Regions from separate parts of the Homo sapiens genome. Here regions 1 and 3 are each linked to region 2. The links are contacts of gene promoters, found by promoter capture Hi-C in blood cells and fetal thymus (Javierre and others, 2016). All regions are on one chromosome and are shown on one strand. Each heading gives the region's core, a stretch centred on a gene start or on the middle of the fragment in contact. The rest is flanking DNA. Distances are from core to core; before and after follow the strand shown. Region 1 overlaps VAX2 (ventral anterior homeobox 2). Region 2 holds the start of ADD2 (adducin 2). Region 3 holds the start of TEX261 (testis expressed 261).

Region 1 (2,705 bases), core at 82-2,581, 160 kb before region 2:
GAGAGAAGCAGATATTTTGGAGAGCAGTTGGAGCACATACTCAGCAGAGCACTGGGAGGAAGTTCTGTGAGTAGCTGGTGCTGAATCCCTCGGGCCCAAAAGAGCCTTTGGCTTCCAGTCTCTTCCAATTCCTGGCTACACCATGGTTCCTGTTATTGAATTTCAACAAGGCTATGGCTTCTGTTTTTAATCCCTGGGGAGTCCATCCATTATCTGAGGGCACTTGAAGGAATTTCTTATCTTTTCCCCCAAAAGAGCTCTGACAGAGACTCTCAGATAACTTAAACCAGAGAAAAACCAGCCCTCCCCCCAAAATCTGACATGCTTTCTTGACATCTCCGCTGGGATCTCAAACTTAACTGATCCAAAACAAAATTCTTGATTATGCTCCCACCATCTTGCTTCTCCCCCAGTTTCTCAACTCATTATATGGTGTCACCATTCTCCCAGTTGTTCTACCCAAACCACTTCCTTTCCCTTGCCCTGGGCGTATAATCCATGAGCAAGTCCTAATATGTTCCAGCACTAAATTAGAGTGCCTCTCACATTAGTACGCTTCTCTCCTCCACCACTGCTCTGTTCAGGACCCATGTCAGTAGTTCCTACCTGTCCACACCTGTCCACTCCTTTCCCCTGTGGGTCCCTTCCCCAAGTGGCAGCCAGAGAACCTCTGTAAAATGCCAATCATCTCCTGTCACTTTCTCTTCAATGTATTACCATAGTCTCTAAGCATCGCATGATCCTCCCCTACCTACTTACCCAATTACCCTGTAGCTCCAGCCACTCTGGCCTTCTGATACTTCTAGAACATTCTATGCCAATTCCTGCCCCTCACGTCTTCATAGTTACCGTCTGCCTTGACGTCTCCTTCTGGCTCCTCATCTGGCTGTTTCTCCCTTGCCACTCAGGCCTAAGCTCAACGTCATCTTCTCAAAGAGGCCTTCCCTGAACACCCCAGTAAAACACTTCCTTTTAGTCTCTCTCCTATGACCCCATTTGAGCTCCCTCACAACACTCATCACTCCTGGAAATGCGGTTTGTCTTTGTCTCTGTGGATCTTAGCTGCACGAGGGCAGATGCCTGGTCTGTTTTGTTCTAAGCCAAAGCCCAAGTGCCTAGAAGAGTACCTGCTATATAGTAGGTATTCAATAATATTTTTGAACAAAATTATGGGTGAACATACTGAGAATGCCACAGAATTCTAGCTACAAGTTAGTTAACCTCTCTGAGGCTCAGTTTGCTTAAATGGGGATAATAGTACCCATAAAGCCATCTTCATGGGTACTATTACCCATGAATGCACCCGCTGCAAGTCTTGAGCAAGTTATCTATTTAACTTTTCTATGCCTCAGTTTCCTTCTATTTAAAGTGGAAACAATATACTCTTATTGGCTGGGCATGGTGGCTCACACCTATAATCCCAGCACTTTGGAAGGCCGAGGAGGGAGGATTACTTGAGACCAGGAGTTCCAGGCCAGCCTAGGAAACAAAGCGAGACCCCGTCTCTACAGTAAACATAAATAAATAAATAAATAAATAAGACTTACTGTTGTATGCTAATGAGGTGATTCAGGGTGGATCTCTAGGTAGTTTCAGGACTGGGGCTGGTTCTAGAAAGACCATACTTGTGATTAGAGGGTAGAAACTTTCAGCCGCCCCCATTCTTTCCTTCTAGGGAGGGGAGGGGAATGGAGATTGGATTATAGTCTTTTTTTGTTTGTTTTTGAGATAGAGTCTTGCTCTGTCATCCAGGCTGGAGTGCAGTGAAGCTAACATGGCTCACTGTAGCCTTGACCTCCTGGGCTCAAACAATCCTCCCACCTCAGCCTCCCAAGTAGCTGGGACTACAGGTGTGTGCCACCACACCCTGCAGTTTACAGTGTAAACTGTAAAAAATGTTTTAAAAAACTTTTTTTAGAGATAAGGTCTCCCTCTGCTGCCAAGGCTGGTCTTGAACTCCTGGACTCCTGAGCAATCCTCCCTCCTTGGCCTCCCAAAGTGCTGGGATTGCAGGCGTGAGCCACTGTGCCAGGCCGGCCTGGATTTAGTCTTGAACAAGGAGACCAGGAGAACTTCTGGTTGGCGAACACGTGGAAGTGCTGGGAATGGGGGCACTGGAAACGGCATGGGAGCTCCACGCACCTCCCCCTTACCTTGCCCTTTGTGTCTCTTCCATCTGGCTCTTCCTCACTCGTGTCATTTATAATAAACCAGCAAGTGTAGGGGAGGTGTTTCCTGAGTTGTGTGCGTCATTCTAGTGAATTGTCAAACCTGCAGAGGGCGATGTGGGAGCCCCCGGTTTTAGGCCAGTCCATTCAGAAGCACAGGTGGCTCCTGGAACTTGAGTCTGCTGTGGCACTGTCTTGTGGGACAGAGCCCTTAACTTGTAGGGTCTGTGCTAGCTCTGGGAATTAGTGTCAGTATTGAACTGTTGAATATACTCAGTGATGCTGGAGAATTGGAGCACTGCCTGCTGGTGGTTGGAACATACCATACACCTGGTGTTGGAAGAAAAATCTCACACGTATCCCATAAGGTTGTGGTGAGGACTAAACTAGTTAGACTATGTCACACCCTTGGAACAGGACCTGGTGCATGGGAAGCGCTCAATAAGCATCAGCTGTCCATTACTTTTACTATCTGTCAACCCTAGGACTGGGGACAGAGGAAGGAGGGTTGTAGTGAGAACAGTGCGGAGGACTTGC
Region 2 (2,700 bases), core at 67-2,566:
TCTGAGTGTGGAAGGAGGGTGCAGGGACCAGGTATGCATGTATGTTTCTTGGAAGGGGGGCTGAAGCAGAAAGACAAGTTTATCCTGGCATCTAGGGTTGTCGTTAGCATTTTCTTTTCTAAATCAGTAGTAGCTCTCAGAGTGGTGTTTCTAAAGTGTTAGTGTGCAAAGGAATCACTAGGGCTGCTTGTTAAAATTACCAATCCTGAGCCTACCTCCAGAGATTCTGGTTCCACAGCAGCACTGTGGTGGGGGCCAGTGACTTTTGTGGGGGTGTCTGAGGGCTGTGGTGCCCCAGAACCTGGAAGGGCAGAGGGGCCATGATCAGGTTTCAGATCAGTGGCCAGAGGCTTTTCTGGAAGCTGTACATTTTCACAAGCACATTTTCAAAAGCCCTTGGAGAGGATGTTGATTGAGGGGAGTTTTGGGGACTGGTGGAGATTATGGGGGTGAAAAGTCCAGAGCTATCTCTTAACACCCCTACTCTCTGAGGGCCAGGCCTTGAAAGTATTGGAAATGGGAGGTGCCTTAGGTACACTGTCATTTTACAGAGGAAGACAACGAGGCCCAGAGAGGTTAAGTGGGTTGATTAAGGTCTCACAGCTAGTTAAGAGCAGCTCTGAGACGGCAACCGAAGTATTCTGGTTCCCTATCCAGTTCCCCACTCACTACACACCTGTTCCTTCTGGGGCGGGAGACCTGAGGAAGGAAAGGAGTGAGAGGAGAATGTAGTGAGAGTTGGAGAGCGTTGGGTCCACAGCCCCCAAGGGCAGGGCCACAACAAAAATGTTGTCCTGGTTGAAAAGGAGTGAGAATCAGGACAGGGAGAATTTTGGTTTGGAATTCAGTCAAACAATTGCTATTAAAATCACTAATAGAATTATCTTCCGAAGGCTAGCTGTCCTTTCCAGACGAAAAGAAATATTCCAAGTCTAAGACTTTTGCTTTCTTCCTTCCAGGGAGAATACATTCCCCCAAGGGAGCTCTGTTTCAGATTTTCTCCCTAGTAACAGACTCCCCTGCTTAGCTCTGGCCATCCCGGGTAGTGAGTGGTGCGGGGCGGGGGTGGAAGGGGGCTGGAAGCCTGGCTAGGGGGGTCTGCGGCGGCGCGGGCGGGGGCGCTGCGGGGAGGAGGGGGGCGCTGCGGGGCGGTAGTGGGGGTGCTGCGGGGCGAGGCCGCTGCGGGGCGGTGGGGGGCGCTGCGGGCGGGGGCACTGCAGCACCGCGGCCCTCGGGCGGCCGGCGCGGCCTGCTGGAGGGGGCGCTGTGGGCACCGCGCAGCGGCCTTTTGTCAGCGCGCAGGGCCAGGAGAGCTCTCATTTCCTCCCAGCCTCGTGCGGGAAATGGCTTTAATTCTGACGGCAGGGCTGTGAGGGACTAGCGGGAACCCGAGCCTTTTGTCAAGGAACTGCGGCGTCGGTGGCCAGTCATCCCCGCCGCCGCGGAGCCGCTGCACTGCTGGGGGATCTCCCAGCAGCTCTGACGAGCGCGGGCTGCAGCATGGGCAGAAAACGCTGCCCTGCAGATTAGCTGGGTGGATTTTTTAAGCGCACCCCACCCCCCAAACCCATAAAATAACAAAACCAACCCGCAGTGGCCGACCGGAGATAGCTAAGATGCCGCGCAGGAGGTAAGGGTCTGGGGAGCGGGCCTGGTGGGCTGCCTGGGGTCGCTGGTCTCCTGGCGCGGAGACCCTGGCATCCCTCGGCCGGGCGGGAGCCGCTTGGCCCAGGTGGGGCGCGTCTGTTGCCGAGCGCGTCGGTGCTGCAGCCCTGGCCGGCAGCGGTGTGTTTTGCGCCTAAAGGTTTCTGGTGATGATGTAGCATCCGAGGCTCTTAGGAAATCGGGGCTGCAAGCACTGGCCCCTGCTTGGGGATGGTGGGACCCTCGCCCGGAGCGTAACGCCTGACAGGTGGGGCTTTCTTTTGGGTCCGAATGGAGGGGCGGCAAGCCTCGCCTCGCCTAGCCGGGCGGGGCCGCTCCTCCCCTCCCCTCCCTCCCCTCCCCTCTCTTTCCTTCCCGCTCGGCCGCCGCCCTCCGGGGTAGCGGTGCGAGGCGGGCTTGGCGGGGCTGGGCGCGTCCCCCGGGGCCTCGCGATCGCTGGCTGCGCGGCGCTCAGCCGCAGTGGCCGGCCGAGCAGGTGCGGCGTCGGCAGCCGCCTACATTGAGATCGGGGCAACCGGCACGTGAGCGGGCCTCGTGGGTTTTGATTTTATGCGGCTCCACCACTTTGGAGGGAAAAATCCCACTGTACCCGAGGGGGTCTTGCCAGTCTGTTTCTTCCATCTTCCCTCTCCTCTCCCTGCCTCCCCTCCCTTTCTGCAGCCGGGGCGGAGGCCATCCCCGGTCCCGGAGGCGGGAGTCGGTGTCTGCTTATTTTTAAATCACACCACAGCCTACCTGGTGTTGGGGGGAAGGGAGGGAGGGGCAGACTGCTTTAGGATGCAGATCAGGCTCTCGGGTCTGGCCTATTGTCTTGCCTTTTCTCTTCCTTCCTTTTCTCACCCCTAATCTCCATCTCTTGCCCAAAACTAAAAATAGAAAATAGGAAATAGAAATAGAAAATAAAAAAGCAAGCTCCAGCCCACACCCTATCAAATTCTTTAAAAAACTGTCATTTATCTCTGACACATGATTAATACCCATCTGTTTCCTTACACCCACTCTTCCCTCTTGCTGTTTGTCGTCTAAGATTCAACT
Region 3 (2,700 bases), core at 56-2,555, 230 kb before region 2:
CTGTTGTGATGCCATCAGCACCATCCATCTTCCCAAACTGAAACCCTGTATCCATTAAAAAGTAACTCCCCATTCTTTGTCCCCCAGACCCTGGCAAGCACCATTTAACTTTCTGCCCATGATTTTGACTACTCTGGGTACCTCATATGAGGGGAATCATACAATGTGTGTCCTTCCCTATTTGGCTTATTTCACTTAGCATCATGCCTTCAAGGTTCATTGATGTTGTAGCATGTGTCAGAATTTCACTTCATTTTAAGGCTAGATAATATTCCATTGTATGTTTATAGCACTTTATGTCTATCTTTTCGTCAACCGATGGACATTTGGGTTGCTTCCCTCTTCTGACCATTGTGAATAATGCTATGAATATTGGTATACAAATGTCTCTGCTTTCTCAGTTCTTTTGGGTATATACCCAGAAGTAGAATTGCTAAATCATACGGTAATTGTTTTTTTTAGGAATACGTATTTTTATGCAGGAAAAATATGATTCTGAAATAAGCCTACTAGACTCTTGTTCTACATACTTTATTTTGCATGCCTGTCTCCGCCACTAGATGGGAGACTTGTTGACAAGGACTAACCGGTTCCAGGTGCCCCTCAGGAACCCTCCCAGAGGTGTAGTAAATGCATCCAGCGCCTAGCGGACGCCCTGCGTGCCCGGCAAGGGGTGAGGTGCAGGCGATACAAAGGTGCAGAATGTACCCCAAAAGAACAGCCTAGAGGGGAATTAGGCCGGAGGATGACCGATTAAAATCACCCCAACTCCTGATTGTGCCGCTTCCTAGGTGCATGACCCAGGGCAACTTCCTTTGGCCCCGGCTTCCCCGTCTATAAAATGATTTACATTATCTGCTCAAATTTCCGACAAGAACACACCTCGCCTTTATCACAGAGCGTGGCACATATTAGGAATTCAATAATTTTGTCCCTATCACCTGCGATAGCAAGAGACAGACTTGTCCGCAACCTGCCGGGAGGCAGGTTCTGGGGAGGTTGCTGGGGCGCGGTCGGGCGGCCCTGTCCGGCCCTGGACCACCTCCAGGCTGGTACGGGAGTGCACAGGGAGGGACTGGAGGCTGCACTCCGAGCCCCAGTATGGGCGCTTGGTCGTCTCCGCCCCTGGGCACCGTCCCGCCTCCCTCTGGCTGCAGCGGTCTGCATTCATTCCCCTCAGTGGAGCGGGGGATCCTGGCGGGGCAGCGGCGGTTGGCCCTCCTCTCCGGCGGGCGGCGCTAGCGCGAGCCTGGCCCCGGGCAGCGCTAGGGCCGGGCTCCTCTCGGCGGCGGCGCACCGTCGTCCTGTCGTCCGCGGGGCGGGGACGCGGCGGCGGCGGCGGCGGTGGCGGCTGTGTGTCGCCGGAGCCGAAGCGCGCAGGCCCGTCCCGGTGGCCGGGGAGCGGGCGGGTGGGGGCGCCATGTGGTTCATGTACCTGCTGAGCTGGCTGTCGCTCTTCATCCAGGTGGCCTTCATCACGCTGGCTGTCGGTGAGACTGCACGACCCCGGCCCGCGCGGGCTCCCGCCCCGGCATCGGTGCTCGTTGGGGGTCGCATCGCGGGGGTTTCGGAGCCACTCGGGGGACCACTGCCCGGCGCTCCCGGCCTTCGCCGCCCCAACCCCTTCCCGCCTGATCCTGCCCCTCCTGTCGAGCCTGGCAGCCCGGCCTGACCGTGGCTCCTTCCAGGTGTCACAGAGTCCGCTCCGGCACTGCCCGAGAAAGGGTGACTCGAGTGCCGCCCCCGCGTCTGCGGACCGCTAACCGCTGCGGCTCCCACTCTTCGCGGGCCTGCCGCGCGGAACTTTTCCCCAACGCCTACCGCCGCCTTTGCGCCTCTGGCCCTTCATGCTCCCTGCTCTCTCCACCTTTGACACTTCTCCTCTGGCTGGTTCCCATTCGGCCTCAGTTGAGATGTCATCTTTTCCGGGAAGTCCACAGGGGTTGATGGTCCAGCAGTGCCCTGTCCTTTCCCTAAAGTAGCATTTCTCACACTAAACTCGTCTGTCTCTCCCTACTGTTCCCCTTCCCTTTCCCAAGCTGGGTCAGGGAAGGACCCTTGTCTGTCTTTTTCAGCTGTATTCTCAGCCCAGGGACCTGGCTCATGCCAAGTGCCCAGCAGGTGTTTATTGAATACGTGAAATTCCGTTTTCTGAGCCAGAGGTTATCATTGTACTGTGGCATCAAATGCAGACTTTCGTTGATTTTTATGAGATTTGTCCTTAGTTGCCCTAAGAAAGTTTTACTTCTCCAGACTTGGAAGGGCAACACATGGGATGTTTGGTTTGTTCTTGACCTTCTGGGGTCCATGAAGGGTGGATGGGGACTGGGCTGCAGAGAGAGGGGTGACCAGGATGGTGGGAGTGACCCTGGCTGATAGTCTCCCTGCCTCCCACCCTGCAGCGGCTGGACTCTATTACCTGGCAGAACTGATAGAAGAATACACAGTGGCCACCAGCAGGATCATAAAATACATGATCTGGGTAAGTGGCATCTTTCTCCAGGAGTCCTCCTCACTCTTTTGCCCTGCCTCAAAAGCAGGAAGTGGGGAGAGTTTGGCATGGATGATGAGGCCTGTGTCTCTGCTGTTTCCTGAGCATACACTCTTACCTCCTTGCCCTGAACGCTGTCTTTTGGGTCTGCACTCCTGGGCCCAGATCTTCCCTGGCCGCCTTCCCCAAGTGGCATTGTTTCACTGCAG

Evidence for each region. Contacts are between HindIII fragments. The CHiCAGO score rates a contact against its expected background, and 5 or more counts as called.
Region 1: a fragment that was not itself captured here is called in contact with the fragment with the promoter of ADD2 in region 2 in 4 of 17 cell types (M2 macrophages, M0 macrophages, M1 macrophages and 1 more); the score reaches 8.9 in M2 macrophages.
Region 3: the fragment with the promoter of TEX261 here is called in contact with the fragment with the promoter of ADD2 in region 2 in 3 of 17 cell types (monocytes, erythroblasts and M0 macrophages); the score reaches 6.5 in monocytes.

The regions. Positions count from the first base shown.
Region 1 is chr2:70,923,181-70,925,885 of GRCh38, reverse strand. All of the region lies in intron 2 of VAX2 (ventral anterior homeobox 2), which reads right to left. Among named protein-coding and RNA genes, the nearest start is that of ATP6V1B1, 11 kb to the left of the region's middle. The HindIII fragment of the contact is 8,926 bases long and covers 1-2,705 here.
Region 2 is chr2:70,766,816-70,769,515 of GRCh38, reverse strand. ADD2 (adducin 2) reads left to right here and starts at 1,316. Exons shown (of 16, transcript NM_001617.4): 1 at 1,316-1,630. RefSeq lists enhancers at 76-640, 1,050-1,615, 1,616-2,181. The HindIII fragment of the contact is 9,920 bases long and covers 1-2,700 here.
Region 3 is chr2:70,993,478-70,996,177 of GRCh38, reverse strand. TEX261 (testis expressed 261) reads left to right here and starts at 1,305. Exons shown (of 6, transcript NM_144582.3): 1 at 1,305-1,490; 2 at 2,403-2,482. The coding sequence starts at 1,421. RefSeq lists an enhancer at 494-543 and silencers at 1,084-1,613, 1,644-1,733. The HindIII fragment of the contact is 23,402 bases long and covers 1-2,700 here.